Regions from separate parts of the Homo sapiens genome. Here region 1 is linked to region 2. The links are contacts of gene promoters, found by promoter capture Hi-C in human tissues and cell types (Jung and others, 2019). All regions are on one chromosome and are shown on one strand. The core of a region is centred on a gene start or on the middle of the fragment in contact, and the rest is flanking DNA. Distances in the headings are between cores, read along the strand shown.

Region 1 (5,269 bases), core at 2,537-5,036, 100 kb after region 2:
CAGCCTGGCCAATATGGTGAAACAACATCTCTACTAAAAATACAAAAATTAGCCAGGCATGGTGGCGGACGCCTGTAATCCCAGCTACTTTGGAGGCTGAGGCAGGAGAATCACTTGAACCTGGGAAGCAGAGGTTGCAGTGAGCCGAGATCATGCCATTGCACTCCAGCCTGGGTGACAGAGTAAGACTCTGTCTCAAAAAAAAATTTAATTTAAAATGTATTATTTAAAATTCATGACAGGGCACTGTGGCTCACACTTGTAATCCCAGGACTTTGAGAGGCTGAGGCAGAAGGATTGCTTGAGGCCAGGAGTTTGAGACCAGAATGGGCAACATAGTGAGACCCTGTCTCCACAAAATAAATAAATGAATAATAAAAGAAAATTTGTTACAGTAAATATGTGTCAAACAAATTTAAACAATCAAACTTTCAAAACCTGGTTTTTGTAAGTTTGCAACTTCTAAAGTTATTAAAGCTTGAAACTGCACAAAGACTTTTAAAACACCCTGTGTGGTTCTACAAGGATAACACAGAACTTTCACACATGATCTCATTTAATGAGCACAGCATGCTATGCAATTAGGATTATTGTCCCCACTATGCAATCCACCAAGCTGGGTCTCTGAATCTGTCTGTCCAGCACAGTAGCCACTGGCTCTGTGTGGCTGTTGAAAACCAGAAATGTGGGGAGTTCAAATTGAGATGTGCTGTAAGTGCAAACATCATACTAGATTTTAAGACTTGGTCCAAAAAGAATGTAAAATATGCCATTAATAATTATTTAATATTGATTATACATTGAAATAGAAAGAAGGCAGGGCATGGTGGCTCATATCTGTAATCCCAGAACTTTGGGAGGCTAAGGTGGCAGGATTGCTTGAGCCCAGGAGTTCAAGAACAGTGTGGGCAACGTAGGGAGCCCCCAGTCTGTACAAGTAATTTTAAAAATTAGCCAGGCACAACGGTGCATGCCTGTAGTCCTAGCTACTTTGGAGGCTGAGGTGGGAAGATTGCTTGAGCCTAGGAGGTCAAGGCTGCAGTGAGCCATGATCACACCACTGTACTCCTGCCTGAGCAACAGAGCCAGACCCTGTCTCCAAAAAAAAAAAATAATAAAAATAAATAACAAGCATTTGAAACAGGTTAAATAATTTTTTTAAATTAATTTCACCTGTTTATACTTTTTAATGCAGCTACTAGAAAATTTAAAATTACACCTGGGGCTCGCATTACAGTTCTGTTGGATAGCACTGCCCTAGAGCAATGCCTCCATGTTGGCCGCCCAACAATATAAATGTCCTGTCTCACAGTGAGGAGTTAACTGGATGAATGTGACATCCTTTGAGGATATCTGAATTTTCTAGGAGGCTTTTAGAGTCTACAAAGTTTAACCTAAACAAATGTGAGTGGAGTTTTTTTGTTTTTTATATTTTTTTGAGACAGAGTCTTGCTCTGTTGCTCAGCCTGGAGTACAATAGAGTGATCTCGGCTCACTGCAACCTCTGCTTCTTGGGTTCAAGTGATTCTTCTGCCTCTGACTCTCAAGTAGCTGGGATTACAGCCACACACCAACATGTCCAGCTAATTTTTGTATTTTTAGTAGAGACGAGGTTTTACCATGTTGGCCAGGCTGGTCTTGAACTCCTGACCTCAGGTGATCCACCTGCCTTGGTCTCCCAAAGTGCTGGGATTATAGGCGTGAGCCATCATGCCTGGCCAATAAATATATTTCTAATGATGGAAACTTGGGGACCATTTCGGGTGTGTGGTAACTTACTCCACTGGGAGACAAAGTCAGCCCTGAGGGAGTAAGAAGGCATCAACAAGATTGCCCTCTATCTAAGCTCTCAGGAACAGGAGATTCCAGAAGCTTTTATCCCTCTGATGACCTAGAACACCCACAAATCTCCATCTAAGGCAGGAAAGAAGAGCTGGATTGGTTCGTAAACTCATTTCCTCAGCTCAATGATTTCTTGAATGCACATTAGAAAAGCTAACAAGTATCAAGAGGCCAACATAGGGTTCCATCTGAGTAGAACACTGTTCCCCTAAGAACAGTGTATAAATATGCTTTGCACCATGCACATCTTCTTTAGCAACTATCTTAAGGATCTGATCAAGATGAGGTCAGGCGTGGTGGCTCACTCCTATAATCCTAGCACTTCGGGAAGCCGAAGTGGGTGGATCACCTGAGGTCAGGAGTTCGAGGCAGGGGAATCGCTTGAACCCGGGAGGTGGAGGCTACAGTTAGCCGAGATCGTGCCACTGCATTCCAACCTGGGCGACAGAGCGAGACTCTGTCTCAAAAAAAATTAAAAATTAAAAAAAAAATAAAGTCAAGGTGAGTCATGCCCCATACCAGGAAGACTGTTTCATCAAGGGCCATTGATAAAACAATCTACCACACCAGGCAACCATTTTTAAAGTCCTAACTATATACCAGACACTGGACTAAGCATTTCACATATGTTATATCACTTAATGTGTTGAAAAACCGGGTGCATTAGGTGCCTTTATTCGCACTTTACAGATATGAAACCGAGGTTCAGTGAGTTTGAGGAACAGGCTCAGGATCCCAGAGCCAGGATTCATGCATGCACCTGGCTCCCTCTAAAGTTTGTATTCTGAAACCACTAATTATACCTATCACAAAATACCAGAGGAAGGGAAGAAACAGAGGGAAAAGTGGGGATATTCTACTATCTGAAGTGCCTTAAATTACCCTCAGGAAGAACCTCTGGCCAATATCTCAGAGATCCAAAGAAACAAAGCAAAGGGCTAAAGGAGTTAGGCAGCCCGGGTGGAAGCAATTTGATATTCCTTGCCTTTCCAAGGGTAGGCCTTTGTGTGAGAAGCCAAGGAACTCGAGTTAGACAGAGTCTGGGGTGACCCATCGTTACATGCATGATGCCAGCCCTGCAGTTGGTGAAAGCTGATAAAGAGCATGAACCCCACTGAGAGTCTGGTCATATTTAATTTCCGCTTTTGCCCAATTCCATGTTTAGTTTTAAGCCCTGCATTTGAAGATGCAAAGATATTAGACAAATTACATATTCCATCCAGCAGATAAAGTCAATGAAAGTGATTCGTCACAAGCTCCAGCAGAATGGGGATGCCGTTATCTTTGTTAGCAAATATGGGTATGGCTTGGAAAGTGAGCATCTCCATCAAGAGGCAGAAACCCTCTCCTTAGATAAAAATCTCATTAATAATTCTTTTCTCAAACAGGAGGAGAAGAAGAGATTTGTTGAGATGGAAACAGCAGAAACAGATAGCAGCAGTCCCCGGCTGCAGCCTGGGTGATTTGAAGGAAGGCACTAAAGGTTACATGAATGAGGATCATTAATATTCACGGCGGCATCTGGTGCTATGTTGCCAGGAGACAGTAATGAGAAAAGAGCATCTTCCAGGTCTAATGGCACTGCGGCTGCCACATCAATCCTGTCGTCCCCAGAAATGAGATCTCTATCATTTGCAAACAGGGAAGCGTTGGTGGCTTGGCTGTCATTCCAGAAGGTCACTAAAAGATATGTAGATGAGCTGCCCATATTTCTCGGGCTGACACTCACCAGGTTCCCTGAATAGTTTTGCCTTTTCAGGGACATGGTCTGACAAGCCAACTTATAAAAGGGTTACTTCTGTAACAGGGTATTTGCTCTTGATCCTTAGAATGTTTTGCTAAGTTCTGGCTTCTTGGATTGGAGCTCCCTCCAAATAGCTGCTGCAAACACTTCTTTGGAGGAAGGTAGCCTTGTCAATCTTGTGCTCTCATAACTTGTGTGAAGGTTGTAGCTTCTTCAACTGTAAACTGAAGAGTAGCAACCAAGAAAAGTAATCATAACCCCATAGCCCTGTGCCTCAGTTTGGGTTCTCCTACCAGCAGACCCTGAGACAGATTCCACTTAAAGTGTTTGCTTCTTCCCACTGGCAAATAGGATTATTAAAATGGGAGAGGTGTCCCAAGATCTTCCTTGTCTCTGCTCCCTCCATCACAGAGCTAGACATTTTCCTTCCACATGTTTAGAGGCTGGATAGGTGTAAAGCTCTTTATACGTTTGTATCATAATTTCCCACTTTCTTTGTTATTCTCACAACTTGATGAATTAAATGAGCCCAGGAGTTCAAGTTCAGCCTGGGAAGTGTAGTTAGACTCCATTTCTAAGAAATAAAATATTCAAAAATTATGCCTTCCTTACTTGTTGTGTGTCAGGGATGAAGATGCAATGGTGAAGAAAATTAGACAAAACCCTCACCCTAGTGGAATTACCAGTGGGTTAATATGGGAGACTGACACCAAATACATAGACAAATTTATTCATTCATTCATTGAACCAAATAGTTACTGCCACCTAGGCACTGAGGTCACAATACAGCATGGAATTAGACAAAAAAAAAAAAATGTTGCTTTCTTGGAGTTTACTACTTAGTAGGGGAAGAAACCTACAGTAGGTAGAAATAAATGCAATGAACTAAAATAAAAAGAAATAGAAGGGTTGGCGGACAGTTGTGCTGTTTTATCAGATGGTCAGGGAAGCCTCTCAGGGGAGGTTGCATTGAGCAGAGACTTGAAAGTGTCACTCAAACAGTGGTGTGCTGAGCCAGCTCACACTGGACCTCAAGAACCAGTGGAAAACATCTCTTCCCAACTCCACATTCAGGGGCATCATATTGGTATCTCAAAATCAGGTAGGAGGAATTACACACTAGAAACCAGCAAATGCTGTGAAAGAGGCTTTTGTTTGTTTGTTTGTTTGTTTAGAGTCAGTCATTAACCATTTACCAATATCGAACTTTCTGCAACTATCTAGGGAAAGATTCTTCATGGCAGAAGGAACATCCAGACAAAGGCTCTGGGCTGAAAGAGTGCTTTGTTTGTTTTTGTTTGTTGAGAAAGAAGAAGAACATATCTACAACAGTGATTCTCAAAGTGTGAACCATAGGATAGCAGCATCAGCATCACTTGAGAAATTTTTGGAAGTGCAAATTCTTAGGCGCCACCCTAGACCTACTGAATCAGAAACTCTGGGTATAGGGTCCAGAAATCTGTTTTCAAAAGCCCTGCAGGTGAGCCTGAGGCACAGGAGAGTCTGAGAAGTACTGGTCTAGACCTAGCACAGTTATCAAGTAGGAGAGTGTGAAAGGAAGGTTGGAGAAGTTACTGGGACTGGATCACGAAGGGCCCTACAAGCTTTGGTAAGAACTGATGATAGTTACATTTATTTGTCAGCTTGGCTGAGCGACAGCACACAGATATTCCATCAAACATT
Region 2 (6,119 bases), core at 858-3,357:
TTGAAATTTACTAAGAGGGCAGATCTTAATGTTTTCACACACACACACACACACACACACAAAGGTAACTATGTGAGGTGATGTATGTGTTAACTAGCTTGAATGTGATGATCATTTCACAATGTATATCAAAACATAATGTATGCATTAAATGTATGCAATTTTTATTTGTCAATTATAACCCAATAAAGCTGAAAAAATATAGAAAAAAGATGAGACAAAAAGTAGTAAACTGAAATAAAACAAAAGGGGGTGGTATAGAGAAAGTTTACTCATCTTTCAACTTTGACAGTAGTTATAAATGGTCCCCCAAACCTCATTATCTCAGAAAAGTCGCCACTGAAAGTTGGAGGCTTTGTTCTATACAACTTGTAAGTTGCATGATGCATTTTTAACACCGGCCTACATTGCCCCAAGATCTGAGTCCTTGTCTAGTCACTTTTGAGATGCTTACCGTGGTGGGAACTTCCTTGGTAGCTTCCTGGTACACACGCTGTTCCTTGACCAAGTTCCTGGGGAAATAACCCACGACTCCCATCTCGTCCTGGCCATCACCATAAACCTAAGTGCCCAGAAGAATAGCAATCAGGAAAAAGCTGATGCTGAGTGTCTTCTGAGAAACTCGCAGGCGTCCTCTTTGCTGATAGTGAGAATCATAGCTGCCAATACCTCCCTTTCACTCCGGGGTCCAGGGGGCGCTGCGGCAAATCCGAAGTTTACTTGGAGCACTAAGTTAACCCGCAGGAATTGTGCATCTACTGTTTAGTGGCCCAGTCTTATTTCGCTACTTTAGCATGACTTTATTTTACGCAATCTTGTGAGTTGCCTGAAATCTTTTTTGAACCCATAAATAAATATATAAAGACAGTACATTTTTTTAAAGTACTGTAGACACTTATTTTAAATGATGCAAATTTCTCAGTTTTCAACAATTCAAATGAACAGACTTAAATGGCTTTAAATTTAATCCTTCATTAATTTAGAACTTACCTTTAGGGTTGCAGATGAGGACAGAAAATCATCCCTGCTTCATCCCTCCCCAGGGACCGCCCCTGTATATTTTAACTGAAGAACGCTGATTCTTTCGAATTAATTAGGGTGCAAAGTTTCCTAAAAGAATATTGATACTTAGACTCACTGCCAACACACATGCCTTCTACTTGGCAAATCTTCTCAGACGTTTTCGGATAAGATTCAAATTCTTTGGGATGTTTAAGCCCCCATGTATTTGACTCTTTTTTTACCAAAATATCACATTAACCTACATTTGGTTTTGTTACGAAATTGATCTTTCTTTCTTTAAAATGCAATAGCAAATATACCTGAATTTTTGCATTTCCATCTACAATCACTACATGGTTCTTAACAACTAGTATTAAGCATTAAAATAGGTTGAAGGTAGGTAATCAAGGAAAGGTTAAGAGCAATATTCGTCAATAGGTGTTTAAATTATCTTACACTGCCAGCCCAAAATTCTCCAGCTCCATTTTCTTTTACCAGCTTTGAGTACACATAGATCTGCTGCCCTTTTTTAACGTTAATGAATCTACAGTCCGGGGCATTATAATCTTCTTGAGCACTAGCCAGAGAAATAGTATCTGGAAGAAAAAAAATTTAAATGATTACATTTTAGGCTCCTGAATTTTATAACAGTAAAAGGCAATGTATATTAGAAAAACTAGAAAATCAGAGTGACTGATAATTCCCAGTTCATAGCTGGTGTCTATCCAAGAGAAAGAAGACAGCCAAGATATTAAAGCTGCAACAAAACTCAGCCAAGTGAATTCTCCGTAGTAAGATACCAAACATGCAGACCAGAAGAAACAAAGCTGATAACATACACATTGGAGAAGATTCACTTCAAAGTATAATTCGATTTTATGCTATTAGTGGATATATTTTCAATTATGTAATAGAAAGATAATGAAAAGCATAAAAAAGTCCTTACAGACACACTCATCATCTGCACAGAGCTTCTTGGAAGCTAGACGGTCCATAAATATTCCATGCACAGCACATACAGCCACAAGACCCGGGAGGAAAAGTAACAATATTCTTGCCATCTTCCTTTTTTCTGTTTTAACTTGAACTCTGACTGGAAGCGGGGACTGACTTCAGTGGTTCCTGCCTTTTATGTGAAAGCCAGAGCTCTGGGTAAATACCCTGGCCAATTAGAAGGGCCTACCACCCCTCCGTTTTCATAACAGGCTGCTCGGCTTCAGGGGCTATTTAGCGTCTGATTTTCCAAACAGAGTCAAACTCTGTGTCTTTCTATACACAGATAATATCCAAAATGGTCCACTATTGTTAAAGCCGCTTTAGCAGTGGTCTATTGTATCAATCAGTAGGGCTTTGCTGAGAGGACTATGAGAATTTCAAACCATTTTTAGTTTTAATTCACCCCTAATTTTCCTTCAGCTTATGAGCAAAGACATACTAGTTGTAGGAATTTGTTGAAAATGTGAGATCTATAGCACAAATAATTTGATTTAAACAAATTCAATTAATAAATCTGGATTTACGTAATAGATAAATGAAAGATTCTTATGCTTACAAATCTTTCATGATAGGATTCTTAGAAGGCATGCCTGTCCCAGGCTAGAGATGAATTCTAACATACTAATTGATGCCCCATTTAGACCCTACCAGTGGGGAAAGAGATGGGTGGGTTGGGAAAAATAGGTCAATCTTTCCCCTACCTCTTCTCTCTAAGACTTTTGCAATTCAGTCTCAAATGCTCAAGGGTGACAGGTCAAAGAGAAGAGAGTGAAGTTACAAGTTTATGTTACCTGGAACTTCCTGCTTCTGAGCATGTTTCCCATGGGGAGAGGAGCACTCCTAGAGGCACCAAAGTGGAACCGCCAGTCCCTAGCTCCGTCTATTCAGCAAATATTTACTGAGCACTTACTGTGCCAGGTATAGTTCTGGGCACTAAAGATATAGCAGTAAATTTAAAAAAAATATTTTGGCCCCAAGTGTTGCTTTCTATTAGAAGAGACAGACAGTAAGTTACTGCTTTTTATAGGGTGTTTGAGGCTGGCATCTCTCCCATAAGGTGGCCCTTCCCCTGTTCTTATCCATTGCTTCTAGAATAGAGATCCTCTCAGGATGCCTTCTCCACCTTGGTTGATGATGTGACTTCGGAGCAGTGCCTTCTCCCCCAACCCCAAAGTCGTAACCTCATAAAATGAGGGACAAGAATTTAACTTACTAAATAATTTTGTGCAATACAATTTCCCAAGGGATAAATGGGTAAGGCAAAATATAATAAAAAGGTTTTTTGTTTTGGGTATATGTGTGTGTGTGATAGAGTTGTATTGGTTTGAGTGCATCTGTGTGTGTATGTAAAAGAGTTTTGGTGTGGGTATGGGTGTGGGTATGTGTGGCTGTGTGTGAGTGTGTGTGTGTGGCTGTGTGTGTATGTGTGTGTGACTTTCAAGGGAGGATCTTTTATATAGCTGGTCCTGATTGGAAAGTCTGTTTTATTCATACCTTCATTATAGACAAGGAAACTGAGGCACAGCAAATGCCAGAGTGGTCTTTTTGTTTTTTGTTGCTTTTTTTTTTTTTTTTTTTTTCCGAGATGGAGTATTGCTCTGTCACCCAGGATGGAGTGCACTGGTGCAATCTCGGCTCACTGCACCCTCTGTCTCCAGGGTTCAAGCAATTCTGCTGCCTCAGCCTCCCAAGTAGCTGGGCTGGCAGGTGTGCACCACCATGCCCAGCTAATTTTTGTATTTTTAGTAGAGACGGGGTTTCACCATATTGGCCAGCCTGGTCTCAAACTCCTGACCTCAAGTGATCCGCCCTCCTCAGCCTCCCAGAATGCTGGGATTACAGGCATGAGCCACCGCACCTGTCCTAAAGTGGTCATTTTGAACCATCCTATCTAAAGGTTACCAGAGGGATCATGGTTCAATGCTATTTCAATTCATTGTTGTCAACTTGGAATTGACAAATTAGAATAAATCATTTATTTCCTGTTTCACATCAAGGAAAGATTGAATTCGATATTATTTTTGAAAGCAGAATGCCTTTCCAATTTTTCCCCTGTAATCAATCTAAAGGTCTAAATTTCTGGGAAAACTAAAGCATTGATTAAATCTTCTTAATCCTGATTGCGCAGCTGTTTTATGGACTGTTCCAGTCTCAAACCAGCCCTCAGCATAGGAGAGTTAAAAGACAATTGTCATTTAAGAGGCACTTGAAGAAATGGGGACTGCAAAAACTCCCCATTGGGGAGCATATACAGATCCCCAAAAGCAGGATAAAATGATTAAAAACAAAAAGCAAAATGTGACATTCAAGCTATCACAACTTAGAAAATCAGGCTAATGCTAACGTGAAGCCATTATTGGACATTTGAAGGTGAAGAAATAAAGTAATGAGATAACCAAGCCTTCTGAGTGCAGCCTGGGAAAGCTTGTGGTGTTCTGGCATTCTAAAGTGGCAGACACAGGACAGAAGCTAGAGGCTTCTTGGTAAAATTGCATGCAAATAGGAATTTGAACTTGCAATAATTCAGCAAGTAGCTGTGTCTGGCAGTTATGCCAAAGACACTGGGGCCACTGGGGGTTCAGTGAGGGTTCTGGCCCCAGTTTTCATACTCGTTCCTCTAGATTTTCAGACGTATTCTCCAAACATTCAATCCCTAAATGACATTTTTCCCCTTCAGTTCCTAAATTAGATTCTCTGTCTGGAGTTCTTAAATGGAGGCCATGGCTCCTTTAGGATCTAAGCATGGGCTCGGTCAAGTGCAGGCAGCCTCCTTGTCATGGCCTACAAGCTCCTGTAGGATCAGGCCCTTCTACCTCTGGGATTTCACCTTTTGCTCTCTCCTCCACTCGCTCTGTTCCTCCCATACCAGTTCTCTCTAACTTTTGAAAACACTAAACTCATTTCTGCTTCAGGTGCTCCGAACTTACCACCTAGGATGCTTTTCCCCAGATACTGGCATTCAGGTTCCTGGCCAAGATGCCTCCACAGACAGAACAATTTAAAAGAGCCACTTCAAACCTTCCTCCACCCAATCCCTGTATCACGTGGCTGCAGTACACTGTCCTAAGGCATGTATCATAGCTGACATGCCTGCTTTATTTACTTAGTTTGTCTTCCAACCAACAGTATAATGAAAGCTCCACAAGGCAGGCATCTTTGCTATCTTGTTCCTCACTCTGTCATTAGCACCCGGAAAGATACTTGGTGTGCATTAAATAGGTATTCACTGAATGAATGCACAATTGCTCCGAAATTGTACGCATAGGGGTGTGTGTGTGTGTGTGTGTGTGTGTGTGTGTGTATGCATGCATTTTTCCCCTGGGCAAAGTCCCTGGCTTTAAAAACAGATTGATAACACCTCTAAGAGTCATTGAATAAATCATTAGGGTAGAAACTCTGGGGTCTTGCAACTTGCCACCAAAACATGGTCCCCAGACCAGTAACTTTGACATCACTTTATAGAAATGAAGTTTCTCAGACCTCACCCCGGAGACACAATCTAAATCTACGTTTTAATGAGATACTCAAGTCACCTGTATGCACATTAACATTTGAGAAGTACTGTTTCCAGGCAAGTAAAATACCGTAATTTTAGCTCACATTCTTCATAAGGTCTTGGCTGGATATATTTTCAAGGAAAAACAAATGCTTGTTAAATACTCAAACAGAAGATACTATAAGGCTTAAAGTTTAAAATGGAGTTTTGAGTTTCTTGCAACTGAGGTAGGAGACCAGAAGAACTTGTTTTCTGGTCACCACCCTGCTGACCAGAACAGGATCTGGTCCAGGCAGTAAAAAGTGAAGAAACCAGCAGGGACAAGGAGATGTCAAGAAAAGCGATCCTCAGCTGTCTTCATTGTTTATTAGCATAAGCCACTCCCATAGTGCCATGACAGTTACAAATGCCATGGCAACAACCTGGAAATTACCACCCCTTTCCATGGCAATGACCCAGAAGTTACCACTCCTTTCCTAGAAAGTTCTAAATAATCTGCCCCTCAATTTGTATTGAGCCTCCCCTTAATTTGCATGTGACCGAAAGTGAGTTTAACTGGGTATAAATGCAGTTGCCAAGAGCCAATACTTTGCCAACTCTGGGCACACCGTGTATGAATTAGCCC

What was found. Contacts are between HindIII fragments. The study calls those that stand out against the background at their distance.
Region 1: a contact is called between a fragment that was not itself captured here and the fragment with the promoter of OTOR in region 2, in 2 of the 25 tissues and cell types used here (H1 embryonic stem cells and IMR-90 fibroblasts).

What each region holds. Positions count from the first base shown.
Region 1 is chr20:16,646,186-16,651,454 of GRCh38, reverse strand. No RefSeq gene overlaps it. Among named protein-coding and RNA genes, the nearest start is that of KIF16B, 75 kb to the right of the region's middle. The HindIII fragment of the contact is 5,222 bases long and covers 1,176-5,269 here.
Region 2 is chr20:16,744,346-16,750,464 of GRCh38, reverse strand. It overlaps OTOR (otoraplin), which reads right to left and starts at 2,107. Exons shown (of 4, transcript NM_020157.4): 1 at 1,949-2,107; 2 at 1,459-1,598; 3 at 455-562. The coding sequence starts at 2,063. The HindIII fragment of the contact is 9,309 bases long and covers 1-6,119 here.